Regions from separate parts of the Homo sapiens genome. Here all the other regions are linked to region 1. Evidence: promoter capture Hi-C in 16 types of primary human blood cells and fetal thymus (Javierre and others, 2016). All regions are on one chromosome and are shown on one strand. The core of a region is centred on a gene start or on the middle of the fragment in contact, and the rest is flanking DNA. Distances in the headings are between cores, read along the strand shown. Region 1 holds the start of RAPH1 (Ras association (RalGDS/AF-6) and pleckstrin homology domains 1). Region 2 has its middle 21 kb from the start of ICOS. Region 3 has its middle 19 kb from the start of CTLA4. Region 4 has its middle 40 kb from the start of CTLA4. Region 5 has its middle 62 kb from the start of CTLA4.

Region 1 (2,663 bases), core at 81-2,580:
CCCCCACTCCGAAGAGCTCTTTCCACCACCCCATGCTTGTTCACCTGGTGTCACCCAGCCTAACTGACAGAGTAGGTATTCCATAAATGTTTGCTGAATTTAATATCCCCATGGACTGACTCTTTAATAATCCGATCACGCCTCATCCCTAACCCGTTACCTTTACTGTTCCTTAACGGTGGACTTTACCTACATAAGCAGCTCTCCACATTTCCCTGAGAAATGCTGCAGACAACATCAACCCTTATTGGAAGATTGAGTGAAGAACTTTTCCATTCTCCCGGATTTCCCCAACGGATCTTCCCAAAGAATTTAAGAAATGCACACACGCAAGACACATGTAACACTTACACCCTCCCTCAAGGCTCTTATTTCATATTAAACCATGTCTTCGAGCTTGTAAGCAATAAGGTTTATGCGGTTTCCAGCTCACACAGTGGGGACACCCTAAGTCACTGCCTTAAGAAAACCACATCTTTCAACCTGTCTTAACACGAAGGCATCCTAATACTATCACACTGCCCCCTCCCTCCGTCCACCCCCCCCCCCCCCCCATGAATTGCAGTTTGGATTTCCGGCGGGAATGTATAATACAGACCGCAAGAGGAGACGCGGTTAAAAAGCAATGAAGCAATTACTTATCCTGTTTAATTAGAAAGAAGACACAGAAGGAGCCCCGCCTTTCAAAATCTCTGCACTGAACTCATCTATGAAAGATGGGGGCATCGAAACCCAAGCAACCCGACATCCAGTAGCTGGTTTCTGCAGCTGGGCGGGGGAAAGTCCTTTCCTCCCTGCGGTCCCGGGCCACCAGCCCCCGGTGCTGGGTCGGAGAAGCCTAACCGCACCCTCCCAGGCGGCCCCTTATCTCATTGTCTCCCTCCGTCGCGGTCCCCAGGGGCGCAGGGTGCAGTCCAGGCCCCACCGACCTCCATCCACCAGCCGGGAGCGGTCCAGCCAGCCCCGGCCCGATCCCCAACCTGGCAACGACCCCGCCCCAGGCTGCCGCCGACCGTACCGCACCCGGATGGCGGGGCCGGGCGCCGGGAAAATGGAGGCGGGAGCGGCAGGAGCGCCTCACGGCCCCGCGCCCAGCCGGCTCCCTACCCCCTGGCCCCGAGGGCGAGGCTAACCACTCACCGCGGCAGTCGGTCGGCCTTCCCGCGGCCCCGGGCAAGGAAACCGCCGCTCGCGCTCCTCCAGCCGCTGCCTCCGCCTCCTCCCCAGGCGCGGCGCTCCCTCGCCAGAGACGCAGCGACTGCCAGCAGCTCCCGCGCCGCGCGCTCAGTGACTGACTGACTGACTGACTGACTGACTGACTGACTGACTGGCGGGCGGCGGCGGGAGCGGGGGCGGGGCGGCCGCAGCGCCCCGCGGCGGCGGCGGCGGCGGCGGAGCCGAGTGTGCTCGCGTCCAGCCGAGACGCAGAAGGCGGGGTTGAGGGCCGGACTGCCGACTGTAGGGCCGACTCGCGCGGGACCGCGCGCCGCCCCCGCCCGCCGCCAACCACTCACTTCCGGCGCAGGCCGCCGCGCCCGCCGCCCTTCCCTAGCCCGCGCCCCGCGCCGGCCCTCCGCCCTCCCTTCAGGCGCCCGGCCGCGCCCGGCCGCACTCAACCGCGGCTCCGCTCGTGCCTCGCCTTTCCTCCGCAAGTCCCTGTGAGCCGCCTACAGGAACGAGTGAATCAGAGAATGAATGAGTGGGGAGGAAAATCCCAGTGCTGCCCCACCCCCTGCTCGCCTTTCATAGGAAGCCGGCCCAGCAGCCTCTGTCCTAGCGCCCTGGGAGGCACAGCAGCCTCCAGCAGTTCTGTCAGGGAGCTGTACGCATCCACCTTTATACGCTGTCCGTGTATTCAGAGACTCCAGAAACGCATCCGGGGTTGGCTCGGTCACTTACAGGACCATTGTCGTTGAGATCTGTGAGGCCCTTCTTTAGGAAATCCCATTTTGGCCAAAAAGTCTCTGCAGTTTCATGGAATGTATTGGGAAACTTAGGAACGGGACATTTCGATGACCTTTACTTTTTAAACTTCGAAATCTGTTAATCCTGCCTCCTTAATTTCTGTCCCCCCACCCCATCGGAATTGTGTAGTAGTAAGGTGTCGGCATTTTTCCTTATCGCTAAGCTCAGCTGCTGCCTCTTTAGATGCAGGCTTGACTTCGGCAGACTTTTAGATTTTAAGTATGTCCTTATTTTGACCTTCACCTAAAGTTGATCAAAGAAAGGAACAAATGGAACTAAGTTATGTTTGCTTGGCTACATGCAAAGCAAGTTTGTTGACAGCATTAAAACAATTGAGAAATTGGGAGTGTGACCTGAAATTGGTTGCAATGAACATTGCTTTTTCATGTCTTCCCATCTGCTTGCTAAGAATTTATTTAAATTTTCACAAAGCATTGACTGTACATTCCTGAAATCCTAGCTCCCTCTCTAAGAATGAGAGTGTTCATTTCTCTGTCCTGGGGCCAAATCCTGGTTTGGTTAATTACATTCTTACTTCCTGATATTCTTGAGGACTTTCAAGTGGTTTCAGTCTTTTTTGTACAATCTGTTCCAAACTGGTACACAATCTGTTTCAAATTGGTATTTAGAACCATACAATACAGATACTGGCTGCCTTTCACACTTGAGATATCTGTACTTTTGAAACATAACTGCCC
Region 2 (2,663 bases), core at 114-2,613, 380 kb after region 1:
AGGGTACTATTCTCTGTTGAAGGAAACTTTCCCATGTCATTCTACCCTTGACTCCCTTGGACCAGACAGGTGGAGTTTCCAGGTGCATACGGTTCTCGCTATTTTATGCACTGATGAGGCAGTAAATGAAACTTCCAAAATCTGGTTTGCGTAATTTATGCCTTTGAAAGGCTGATATTATTGCATTAAATTCTGAGGGCATTTAGGAAAAACACTGCCACTGAAACTCTAAATAAATATATCCAACACAGCAATTTGAAAATGATTTGAGGGAAAGTAATTACTCGGTTTCCTTCTCTCCCACCATCGTTATGGATGGAGTTTGACAGGAAGGAAAGCTTTAACGGAGTTTTTCTCACTAGGAGGTAACATAAGCAAACTTTTTGACCTCAAACCTAAAAATAATGTCAAGTTCTGCATTTAGCTGCATCACACCTCTTCTCCGTTCTCACATTTCATAATATTAGTTGTCTTCTTTCTATATTTAGCTTTTGGAGCACACAAAGTAACGAATAGCTTCATGTTTTTACTAAATCTTACAAGTAGAGCAAGAAAAAGATTTTTTTTTTAAAAGTAAACAACCTCTGCATCTTCAGAGCAAAACCCACTCAGAAAACTTGTGCCACAAAACCTCACTACCACCACAGCGCCAGCTCAGGGACCCTGACAGACAGCTGGAGCTGTTTACCAGACAGGCCACCCTTTGATTCACATGGGCATTACAAGTCCATTGTTTGTTTGAATGGCGTAGGCAACAGAGCTGAGACAACTTTGATGGATAAGAGGTGAGAAGTTAGATGTTATTTTTTTTTTTTGTTACAGCAACAAGCAGCAGCAGCTAGTACTTATTGAGAAAATAAAACGTTAGGTTTTATGTCATACTAGGTTTATGTTAGCACATTAGTCGAAATGCTTTACTATGTTAACTTATTTAACACGATCCCACAACAAACTAACAGGAGATAGGTACTGTCATGATCTTCATTTTACAGATGAGAAAGTTGAACCTTGAGTGGTTCCCTTGCTTGCCCACGAACCTGCAGCTCGAGAGACTGCGAAGCCTGATTCAAACCCGAAAGGCCTGTCTCTGCAGCCAGCTCTTCATCTCTGCACTGGACAACCCGCCTCTCTGAAGGAAGCACGGTTGCTTCAACAGTTTGTAGCCAAGCAAAGAGTCTGTGAAGGGAATCCAGTTTTTCTATTTTGAAATCAAGTTGGATTTCACTGGAAGAATTCCTGGGCACTGGGTCTAATAAAAATCACATGTAAGGATGCAGGAAAACTTCTCATTTTATATATTTGAAGGAAAAACTCATTTGTATCCATGATCGTTAGCAACACAGTTCCTCAGTGAGTCAAGTAAAAATGAACATCTTTGGAAACTGAAACTAAAATAGGACAATATAAAACAAATGACTTTTATTACCCAGGACTTTTTAATCATTGAGTCTGAGATCTCTAAAACTTTAGCAATTTGGTTTTGATTTTTTTTTTTTTTTTTTTGAGACGGAGTCTCGCTCTGCTGCGCAGGCTGGAGTGCGGTGGCACGATCCTGGCCACCGCAACCTCCGCCTCTCAGGTTCAAGCAATTCTCCTGCCTCAGCCTCCCGAGTAGCTGGGATACAGGCGCCGGCCACCACGCCTGGCTAATTTTTATATTTTTAGTAGAGACGGGGTTTCACCATGTTGGCCAGGTTGGTCTCCAACTCCTGACCTCAGGTGATCCGCCCGCCTCGGCCTCCCAAAGTTTTGGAATTATGGGCGTGAGCCACCGCACCCAGCCTGATTTTCTTTCTTAAGTTTATTTTTTAGATTCACTCCCAAGCCTACTTGATGCTTTTATTCTAAGGCAGTGGGTTCCCAGGCACAAATTTCACAAAAGATTCCACTACCTTTTAGTAATTGCAATGGAAACAGGGGATATCTGGGTAGTATTTATTCCTATGGAGAGAAAAAAAGTATATGATTGTTTGAGGCTCTTTCTTTGCTTTGCTCTCCACTGCTGTTTAAACTTCCCCTGTTCATATAGGGCAGCGACCAACAACAAACTGAATAGACTAAACCTTAGTGAGCAGATCCTGCAAATTAAGGTGGTTGGGTTAGGTCAGGCTACGGCTTCAAAGAGATCCAGCTGTCTCCAATAAGGATCTATCAATAACCTTTGTTGGAGTAAGAATACCTGGTAGTCAGGTAAGGAACTGACTTCTATGATTCAGGGATCTTATCTTACCTCATTTTGTAATTTGAGTTCTTGTTCTTTTACCATCAGTTGAGTTTATTAGTGACTTTCCATACCTCTTTACCCAGTAAGTAGACCTTAATACAGTATCATTGTGCAGGAAGAGATGACACATTGAGTTCTAAAATGCCAAGTCCTTGCTTATAAATGAAGCTTTGTCCCACTAGTTGGTAGAAGAGTCAGTGGTTCAGCCCTACATCAATTCCCCCAAATGGCTGGCAAATAAATGTGCTAATTATTTTGTTGTCCCAAAAGATGCATCTGATGGCAGCTATTGATGGATTGGTAGGTAAGAAAGTGGCCATGACTTTGCCTTAGGTTGATATACACAAGTTGCAGCTTCAGGATGCTGACACAGTGGATTGATTTGGTTTTTTTGGTCTGGCAGAGAAATTCAGCTTTTTCTTTCTCTTTGAGTAAGTCT
Region 3 (2,663 bases), core at 120-2,619, 310 kb after region 1:
AGCTGAGGGGCAGAATGAAGACTCAATTGTTAGAGTCACAGAGCTTCAGAGATGTTTGAATGCTCAACCAAAGCAGGTATATTATGCAAAGGTCAGGGACCTGGTGGGACCCTGTTGCAGAATACTGCAACATGGGATGGGGACATCTGGATGGCACCCTGAGGATGTTCATTCTTCAACCCCCTCAGATCCTCTGGGCTTGCAGATGTGGCTCACCTTCCATAGTAAAGGCTAGCAGTTCTACAGTGCTGGAAGATGCTATAGAAATCTCACCCCTGTAAGAGGTGCCACTTCAGAATCTGCCCCCACCTCCTCTCTTGCCTGCCAAGCCAATAACTAGGATTGAGGTCATGCTGGGCCTGGTAAGTTAAGAAAGAGACTCTATGCCTAAGGAATTGCAATAGTTTGCCAGCATTAATTGGCAGAAGCCAGGGGAATACTCCTAGGATTTGATTTTGAGGGTGCTTGATCAAAGAAGCTAAAATGTAAGACTAGATAAGCAAGAATTCATTGACCTAAGGGCACTTTCTTGAGACCTGATATTTAACACCCTAGAAAAGTTGTTGGGTGATAGGGCAAACTTATTGCTGGGTGGCTCTTAGAAGCCTGGATAAAAAAATAGCCAACTCTCATGAAGTGGAAGTGCCTGAATTACCGTGGCAGATGGTAGACGAATAAAGGGACTGAAGAGGTAGAGACGCTGGAATGGATATATTATGTGAGACCAGAAGACCCACCAAGAGGAGGTTGATGTTCCATGACAGGGACCAGAGGGAAAATCATTCACTAGGGTTATAAGGAATATGCTGGTGAGAGGGGCACGAGCACCACAGTGGTTTCCTCCTTTGCAGGTAAGGGATTATGGCAAGAGAGGTAGTCACAGAGTTGAGTTTGTTGACATCTATGAGGATGATGGAGCTCTGGGAAGCCAGGAGGCTGACTGTAAAAAGAAAAAAAAAATACAGGTAAAAGCAGAGGATCAGGAGACTGAGAACAACTGCTCTAATAAAAAGCCACAATCCTTTGTGCAGTTCCTGAACTTGAGCCAATTTTCAGATTTGTAACCCATTGACTGAAGAGGTGGCCTGGTACTAGGAGGAAAGACCCTTCAGCACTATGGCAAGAATATACTGAGATAATTCCCTCAGTCCTTCCCCAAGGGACTTATGATCCCTTACACGGATGAGGAAGAGGGGAACAACCACTCATGTTTGGGATTAATGGACACAGGGTCTGAGCTGACATCAGTACTTGGAGACCTAAAGTGTCATCATGGCACCCCTTGTTAGAATGACAGCCTGTGGGGGTCATGTAATAGATAGAATCCTAAGAACCCATCCAGAGGTGGTTGTTTTCCCAGTCCCTAAATGTACAATTGGAGTTGATATATTTGGAAATTGTAGTAACCTCCACATAGGTTTCCTGGTCTGTAGAATATGAGCTATTAAAGTAGGCTAAATTGAAACTTTTCAAATTGTCCAACATCTTTCTCACTTCATTCAAGATAATAAATCCAAAATATCATATATTTTGGAGTGAGAGGATGGTGAAGATAAATGCCATCATTAAAGGTCTAGAGGATGCAGGGGTGGTGGTTCCTACTTTATCTCTATTTAATTCACCAATCTCGTTCCGTAGAAACTGAACAGATTCTGGTGGTCCTCTAGACTGCCATAGACTTAATCAAGCATCAGCCCAAAGAGCAGTTGCTATCCCAGATGTGGTATCATTCCTAGAGCATTTTAATAAGGCCTCAGGTTCACGGTATGCAGACACTGATTTGGTGAATATGTTCTTTTACATTCCCATTAGAAAAGACGATCAGAAACAGTTTGCATTCATGTGGGAGGGACAACAATATTCATTTACAATTTTGTCTCAGGTCTATGTTTCTGCCACCCTCTGTGATGGTGAGTCTGAAGGAACTGGACTGCCTGAACACCCCACAGAACATCACTCTGATCTATTACATTGACAACATCACGATGATTGGACAAGTTGAGCAAGAGGTGACTAGTGTGTGGTGTCTTGGGAAAACATATGTGCTCTAGTGGTTGGGAAGTTTCAGTGAAGACTTTTAGAGGTTCAGTAGTCATGCGCATGCTGGGATATCCCCTCCAAAGCAAAAGAAAAATTGCTGCATCTTATATCCCCTATCACAAATAAAACAACATCTGGTAGGACTCTTTGAGTTCTGGAGGCAACACATCCCACATCTAGGGATATTGCTTCCACCCATGCTCCAGATGATATGGAAGGCTGCCAGCTTTGAGTACTGTTCAGAGCAGGAAAGGGCACCACAGCAGGTCCAGGCTGTGGTGCAGCACCCTGTGCTATTTGGGTCATGTAATCTGGCAGATCCTATTGTGTCAAAGGCATCAGTGGTAGAAAAGATGCAGTGTGGAGTATATGGTATGCTCCAGCAGGAGAATCATAATGAAGACCTTTGGGATTCTGGAGTCAGGCCCTTTTCAACAGGGAATAATATGTCCTTGGAGAAAAAGCTCTTGATTTGTTACTGGACCATGATAGAGGTAGAACCCTTGACCACAGGACTCCAAGTCACTGTGCATCTGGGACTTCTCATTATAAACTGGGTTCTATTGGCTTCACCAAGCCATAAAGTCATATGGACCCAGAAACAGTCCATCATAAGGTGGAAA
Region 4 (2,663 bases), core at 61-2,560, 290 kb after region 1:
GGTGCACATTAAGATTTCTGTTTGGGTCTGGGAACCATTTCTTTGTAATCTTTATCATCAAATATGCTGTTCCTGGCTAAGTTAGCATCTTCCACCATGAGCAAAAGGTAGCGATGCTGTTCTTACTCACAACCCTAAAGCTCTTCAGAACCTGTTTGTATTAAAGCAATATAGATCTTCCAGCCTCTGTGGTTCCCTAATTTTATTTATTTAATGCTGATACAGCATTCTTCATGATACAGCATCATCCATCAGGCTGCCTGTGAGTATTGGACCATCTCCAAAGTTGTTATTGTGCTTCATTGAAGATGACCACAAATGCAAGTCTTACTCAGAGTATGTAGAAATGTGTGAATGATAATCTGTTTTCTGGTCATGTTCAGAATTTTATAGCATAATGTGGAATAGCTCATCTTCCAACCATGTCTTCTTTTGAACTTTTTAGGTAGTAATCACTGTATTCCCAGAATGTGACCTCCTTCAATAATGATTGCATCCCTGCCTTCCATACACTGCCATAAGAGGCAAGGAGAGGTGAGGGTCTCATGGGAAGAATAGAAGAGAGGTCTCATTCACATAAGGGATGTGTGGCCCATTTCAGGTACAACCTAACACTGTCCCTGGAGAGCATGACATCACCACATCAATTGAAAGCAAGTGAGAACATCATTTGGAAGCGCCTGTTGGTGGAGGGGACACTAGCAATGGGGGAGGGGTTCGACAAGGTTGGGTACCTGCTTTCATTCCTGCCTCCCTGAGTGTTGTAACCAGAGGTGGCACTGAGGTCAGAACACAGTCAGGTTAGAGCCCATGCATGGGCTTACTCATGTGGCTCAAGCCCTAAGGTCATGGTGGACTCTTAGTGTTCTATTGCTGCCATAACAAATTACCATACAGTGAGCAGCTTAAAACAACATCCATGATATGGTTTGGCTGTGTCCCTACTCAAATCTCATCTTGAATTGTAGCTCCCACAATTCCCAGGTGTTGTGGGAGGTAATTGAATCATGGGGGCAGGTCTTTCCCGTGCTATTCTTGTGATAGTGAATAAGTCTCATGAGATCTGATGGTTTTATAAAGGAGAGTTTCCCTGCACAAGTTCTTTTCTCTTGTCTGCCACCATGTGAGACATGCCTTTCACCTTCCGCCATGATTGCGAGGCCTCCCCAGCCATGTGGAACTGTGAGTCCATTAAACTGCTTTCTTTTGTAAATTGACCAGTCTCAGTTATGTCTTTATTAGCAGCATGAAAATGGACTAATACAATCTATTTTATTTTCTCACAGTCACGTAGGTCAGAAGTCCAGACACACATGGCTTGGCTGTTTCTTTTCTCTCATCCATTTTATTTTTTACTTTATTACTATTTTTTGAGACAGGGTCTTGTTCTGTCACCCAGGCTGGAGTGCAGTGGTACAATCTCAGCTCACTGCAGCCTCAACCTCCCGGGCTGAAGTGATCCTCCTGCTTCAGTCTCCCAAGTGACTAGGACTATAGATGTTTGCCACCATGCCCAGCTAATTAAATTATTTTTATTTTTATTTTTTATTTTTTGTAGAGACAGAGTCTCATCATGTTGCCCAGGCTGGCCATCCATTTTATTATCTCACAGTCTTGTAGCTTGCAAGTCCAGGCACACATGACTTGGCTGGTTCTCTGCCCCAGGTTTCATAAGGCAAAATCTAGGTGTGGGCTGGGCTGTGTTCCTTTCTTGAGATTCTGGGGATGAATCTGCTTTGAAGATCATTCCAGTTGTTGGCAGAATTCAGCTCCATGCAGTTGGAGAAATGAAGTTCCAATGTCCTTGATGGCTGTCTGCCTTGGATCCCCCTTTCTCCATTTTCAAAGCCAGTGGCAATGGATCTCATACCTTGAATCTCTCTGACTTTCCCTTCTGCCTCATTTCTCTTCTGTTTCCAGCTGAAGAGTGTTCTCTGCTTTTAACAGCTCATGTGATTAGATTGGCCCCACCTGGATAATCCAGGCTAATCTCCTGATTTAAAGTTGTACCCGCCAGGTGCGGTGGCTCAGGCCTGTAATCCCAGCACTTTGGGAGGCTGAGGCGGGTGGATTGCTTGAAGTCAGGAGTTTGAGACCAGCCTGGCCAACATGGTAAAAACTAGTCTCTACTAAAAATACAAAAATTAGCCGGGCATGATGGTGTGTGCCTGTAGTCCCAGCTACTCAGGAGGTTGAGGCAGAATTGCTTGAACTCAGGCGGTGGATGTTGCAGTGAGCCAAGATCGCACCACTGCACTCCAGCCTGGGCGACAGAGCAAGACTCAGTCTCAAAAATAAATAAATAAATAAATAAAAAAGTCTGTATCTTAATTACATCTGCAAAGTCCCTTTGCCATGAAACGTAACATATTCAGAGGTTGCAGGGATTAGAGCATGAATATCTTTGAAGGGTCATTATTCTGCCTACCACAAGGATTGCTGGTTGTTCTAAGGCCTGAACTCATCCTGGGTCTGATATGAGTGAAGTCCACCCTAAATCAGCATGTTGGCACTATTCTGGCAGCCCAATACTGCATGAATCCATGAAAGAAAAATCCCACTGGTCAGCAAGAGCAATCTACTTGCCAGAACACCCTCTTGGAATGAGATCTGACTAGGATGCCTGGGACCCCCACATGGGCATGAATCCCAGAATCCCTTAG
Region 5 (2,663 bases), core at 115-2,614, 270 kb after region 1:
GATAACCCTTTCTAGTACAGAGGCAAACATTTTAGGAATATAATTTGTACTTGAAGAGGATAATTCTCTTGTGACTCTAGAAGGGAGAAACATGAAGAAAATACGAACTAATAAGAAAGACCAGGTGTGGCAACTCATCCCTGTAATCTCAGCACATTGGGAAGCTGAGGCAGGAGGATCACTTGAACCCAGGAGTTTGAAACCAGACTGGGCAACATAGTGATACCCCATCTCAAAAAAGAAAAAAAAAGAAAGAAGGAGATGGCCTTAAGGTTTCTTGTCTTGGCACCAAAATGAAATCAGTGATGAGTGGGTGGAGGACTGGAGTTACTATGGGCAGTGCGTGGGGGAGATAAGAAGAAATTGCCCTAAAGATATGTCAGGTCTCTTTCTAAAGAGTAGGACTTGGACCAAGGAGAAGGAAGTGAGTCATGCAAGCACAGGGTCAGATCCTGTCTTCATTAAAAATGTGATATTTTGATAATGATTTTCTTGCATTCATTTTAATTCTTTAAAATATTACACGAAAATGTTATTTGATTAATTTTTTAGTGCTCCTTAAAATTTGTACCTGATACATCAACTCATGCTAGTTCCTGCCCTGCTAAAGGGAAACATTAATAAATGAGAAAAAATATTTATAGTTCATATTAAATATTGTTTGCATTCCGAACTCTACTTGGAAAGCAAAGCCATGTTCTCTAGGTCCACAGGTCCCAAGCTCTACCTCCCGTGGTTTCCCAAGGCCAGGGTGTGTGGAATTGAACATTTCACAATCTGGGGGAGACAACACAACTTTATGGTTTTTTCCTCTGGTTGCTTTGAAGATTTTCTCTTTATTTTAAGCAATTTGATAACATTATGCCTTCATGAAATTTTCTTCTTGTTTCCTAAGCTTGGTGTTGGTTGAGCTTCAAATCTGTGAGTTTATATCTTTAGACAAATTTACATCTAAAAAAATTAATTTAAAAATTTTTTCTGTCTTCACATTTTCCAACAGGAAAATAATATATAATTGGACTGCAATACTCCAATTATATGTGTATTGGACTGCTTAAAGGTGTCTGATGTTCTCTTCATTTTTCAGTGTGTTTTCTCCAGGAGTTTTATTATGCATGGTTCCTATGGCTATGCCGTCAAGTTCACTAATATTATTTTATTTGGTGTTGAATCCACTGTTTATCCTACCCAGTGTATTTTTTTCAGGTGTTGTAGTTTTCATTTCCAGAAGTTCTATTTGGGTCATTTAAATAGATCTCATGTCTCTTTTTAATGTGCTTAATCTTTCCTCCACCTTCTTGAACATATGGAATATAGTTACAATAACTACAATGACATGATCTCAGCTCACTGCACCCTTGACCTCCTGGGCTCAAGAGATCCTCCCACCTTAGCATCCTGAGTAGCTGGGACTATAGGAACATGCCACCACACCTGGCTAATTTTTGTATTTCTTGTAGAGCTGGGGTTTCACCATGTTGCCCAGGCTGGTCTGGAATGCCTGAGCTTAAGCTATCTGCCCACCTTGGTCTCCCAAAGTGCTAGGATTATAGGTGTGAGCCACTGAGCCTGACCATAACTACATGTCTTAATGTTTTTCTCTACTAATTCTAACATCTTTATCATTTCTGGGTCTGTTTCTACTGATCAATTTTTCTTTTCATTATGAGTTATATTTTCCTGTTTCTTTGCATACCCAGTAATTTGGATTGGATGCCAGATATTGTAAATTTTACCTTGTTGGGTATTGGTTTTTTTTATAGTCCCATAAATATTTTTAATGTTTGTTCTGAGATACATGTGCATTACTTGAAAACAATTTGAAGTTTGCTTTTAAGCTTTGTGAGGTGGGATGAGAGCTGCCTTTGGTATAAGGCTGATTTTTCTCACTACTGATTCCAGACTCCCAGCTCCATCTTCTCAACTAAATGAGACCTCCTCTCTGCATGGTATCTTGGAAATTTTCCAGGCTGTGAGCTGGAACAATCATAGAGCTCACCTTATTTGCTTTCCCGCTCTTAGAGATCACTGTCCTGTGCTGTCTGATGTTCAGTGTCTAAAAACTATACTTTCTGATATTTTGCCCATTTACTTTTTAGCATTTTTCAAGACAGGATCAATTAGGTCTTTGGTATTCCTCTTTGCCTGAAGTGAAAGTCTTGAACATTATGGCTTCTGACTGTGGTTGATGAGTAATATTTTTAGAGAACAAAATAAAGTATACCTTGAATGACCAATTAAAGCTTTCTGAATGGTTTAAGACACTTTAATAAAATTTACATCACCTATAAGTGTCAAAACAATTATAAATTTATACTCATAGTTTTCATATAACCCCTTAGTGAGTAGGTGTCAAAGTTTCATTTCTCATTAATGAGGTAATCAGAAGAATGATAAAGCCAGTGAGGAAAGTGACACAAAGAGAAGGCAAATGGCCAGGCACAGTGGCTCATGCCTGTAATCCCATCACTTTGGGAGGCCGAAGCAGGTGGATCACTTGAGCCCAGGAGTTTGAGGCCAGCCTGGGCAACATGGTGAAACCCTATCTCTACTACAAGTACAAAAATTAGCCAGGCGTGGTGGCACACACCTGTAAGCTCAGCTACTCAGGAGACTGAGGCATGAGAATCGCTTGAACCTGGGAGGTGGAGGTTGCAGTAAGC

What was found. The method cuts DNA at HindIII sites, captures the fragments that hold promoters and counts their contacts. A CHiCAGO score of 5 or more calls a contact.
Region 2: a fragment that was not itself captured here is called in contact with the fragment with the promoter of RAPH1 in region 1 in 5 of 17 cell types (monocytes, M0 macrophages, M1 macrophages and 2 more); the score reaches 11.3 in monocytes.
Region 3: a contact is called between a fragment that was not itself captured here and the fragment with the promoter of RAPH1 in region 1, in 1 of 17 cell types (monocytes). The highest score is 5.2, in monocytes.
Region 4: a fragment that was not itself captured here is called in contact with the fragment with the promoter of RAPH1 in region 1 in 1 of 17 cell types (non-activated CD4 T cells); the score reaches 5.4 in non-activated CD4 T cells.
Region 5: a contact is called between a fragment that was not itself captured here and the fragment with the promoter of RAPH1 in region 1, in 8 of 17 cell types (M2 macrophages, M0 macrophages, activated CD4 T cells and 5 more). The highest score is 8.1, in M2 macrophages.

Annotation. Positions count from the first base shown.
Region 1 is chr2:203,533,971-203,536,633 of GRCh38, forward strand. It overlaps RAPH1 (Ras association (RalGDS/AF-6) and pleckstrin homology domains 1), which reads right to left and starts at 1,331. Exons shown (of 14, transcript NM_213589.3): 1 at 1,141-1,331. RefSeq lists silencers at 1,100-1,199, 1,270-1,359, 1,410-1,479. The HindIII fragment of the contact is 18,695 bases long and covers 1-2,663 here.
Region 2 is chr2:203,914,297-203,916,959 of GRCh38, forward strand. No RefSeq gene overlaps it. Among named protein-coding and RNA genes, the nearest start is that of ICOS, 21 kb to the right of the region's middle. The HindIII fragment of the contact is 2,054 bases long and covers 337-2,390 here.
Region 3 is chr2:203,847,184-203,849,846 of GRCh38, forward strand. No RefSeq gene overlaps it. Among named protein-coding and RNA genes, the nearest start is that of CTLA4, 19 kb to the right of the region's middle. The HindIII fragment of the contact is 4,100 bases long and covers 1-2,663 here.
Region 4 is chr2:203,826,683-203,829,345 of GRCh38, forward strand. No RefSeq gene overlaps it. Among named protein-coding and RNA genes, the nearest start is that of CTLA4, 40 kb to the right of the region's middle. The HindIII fragment of the contact is 3,441 bases long and covers 1-2,663 here.
Region 5 is chr2:203,804,587-203,807,249 of GRCh38, forward strand. No RefSeq gene overlaps it. Among named protein-coding and RNA genes, the nearest start is that of CTLA4, 62 kb to the right of the region's middle. The HindIII fragment of the contact is 943 bases long and covers 894-1,836 here.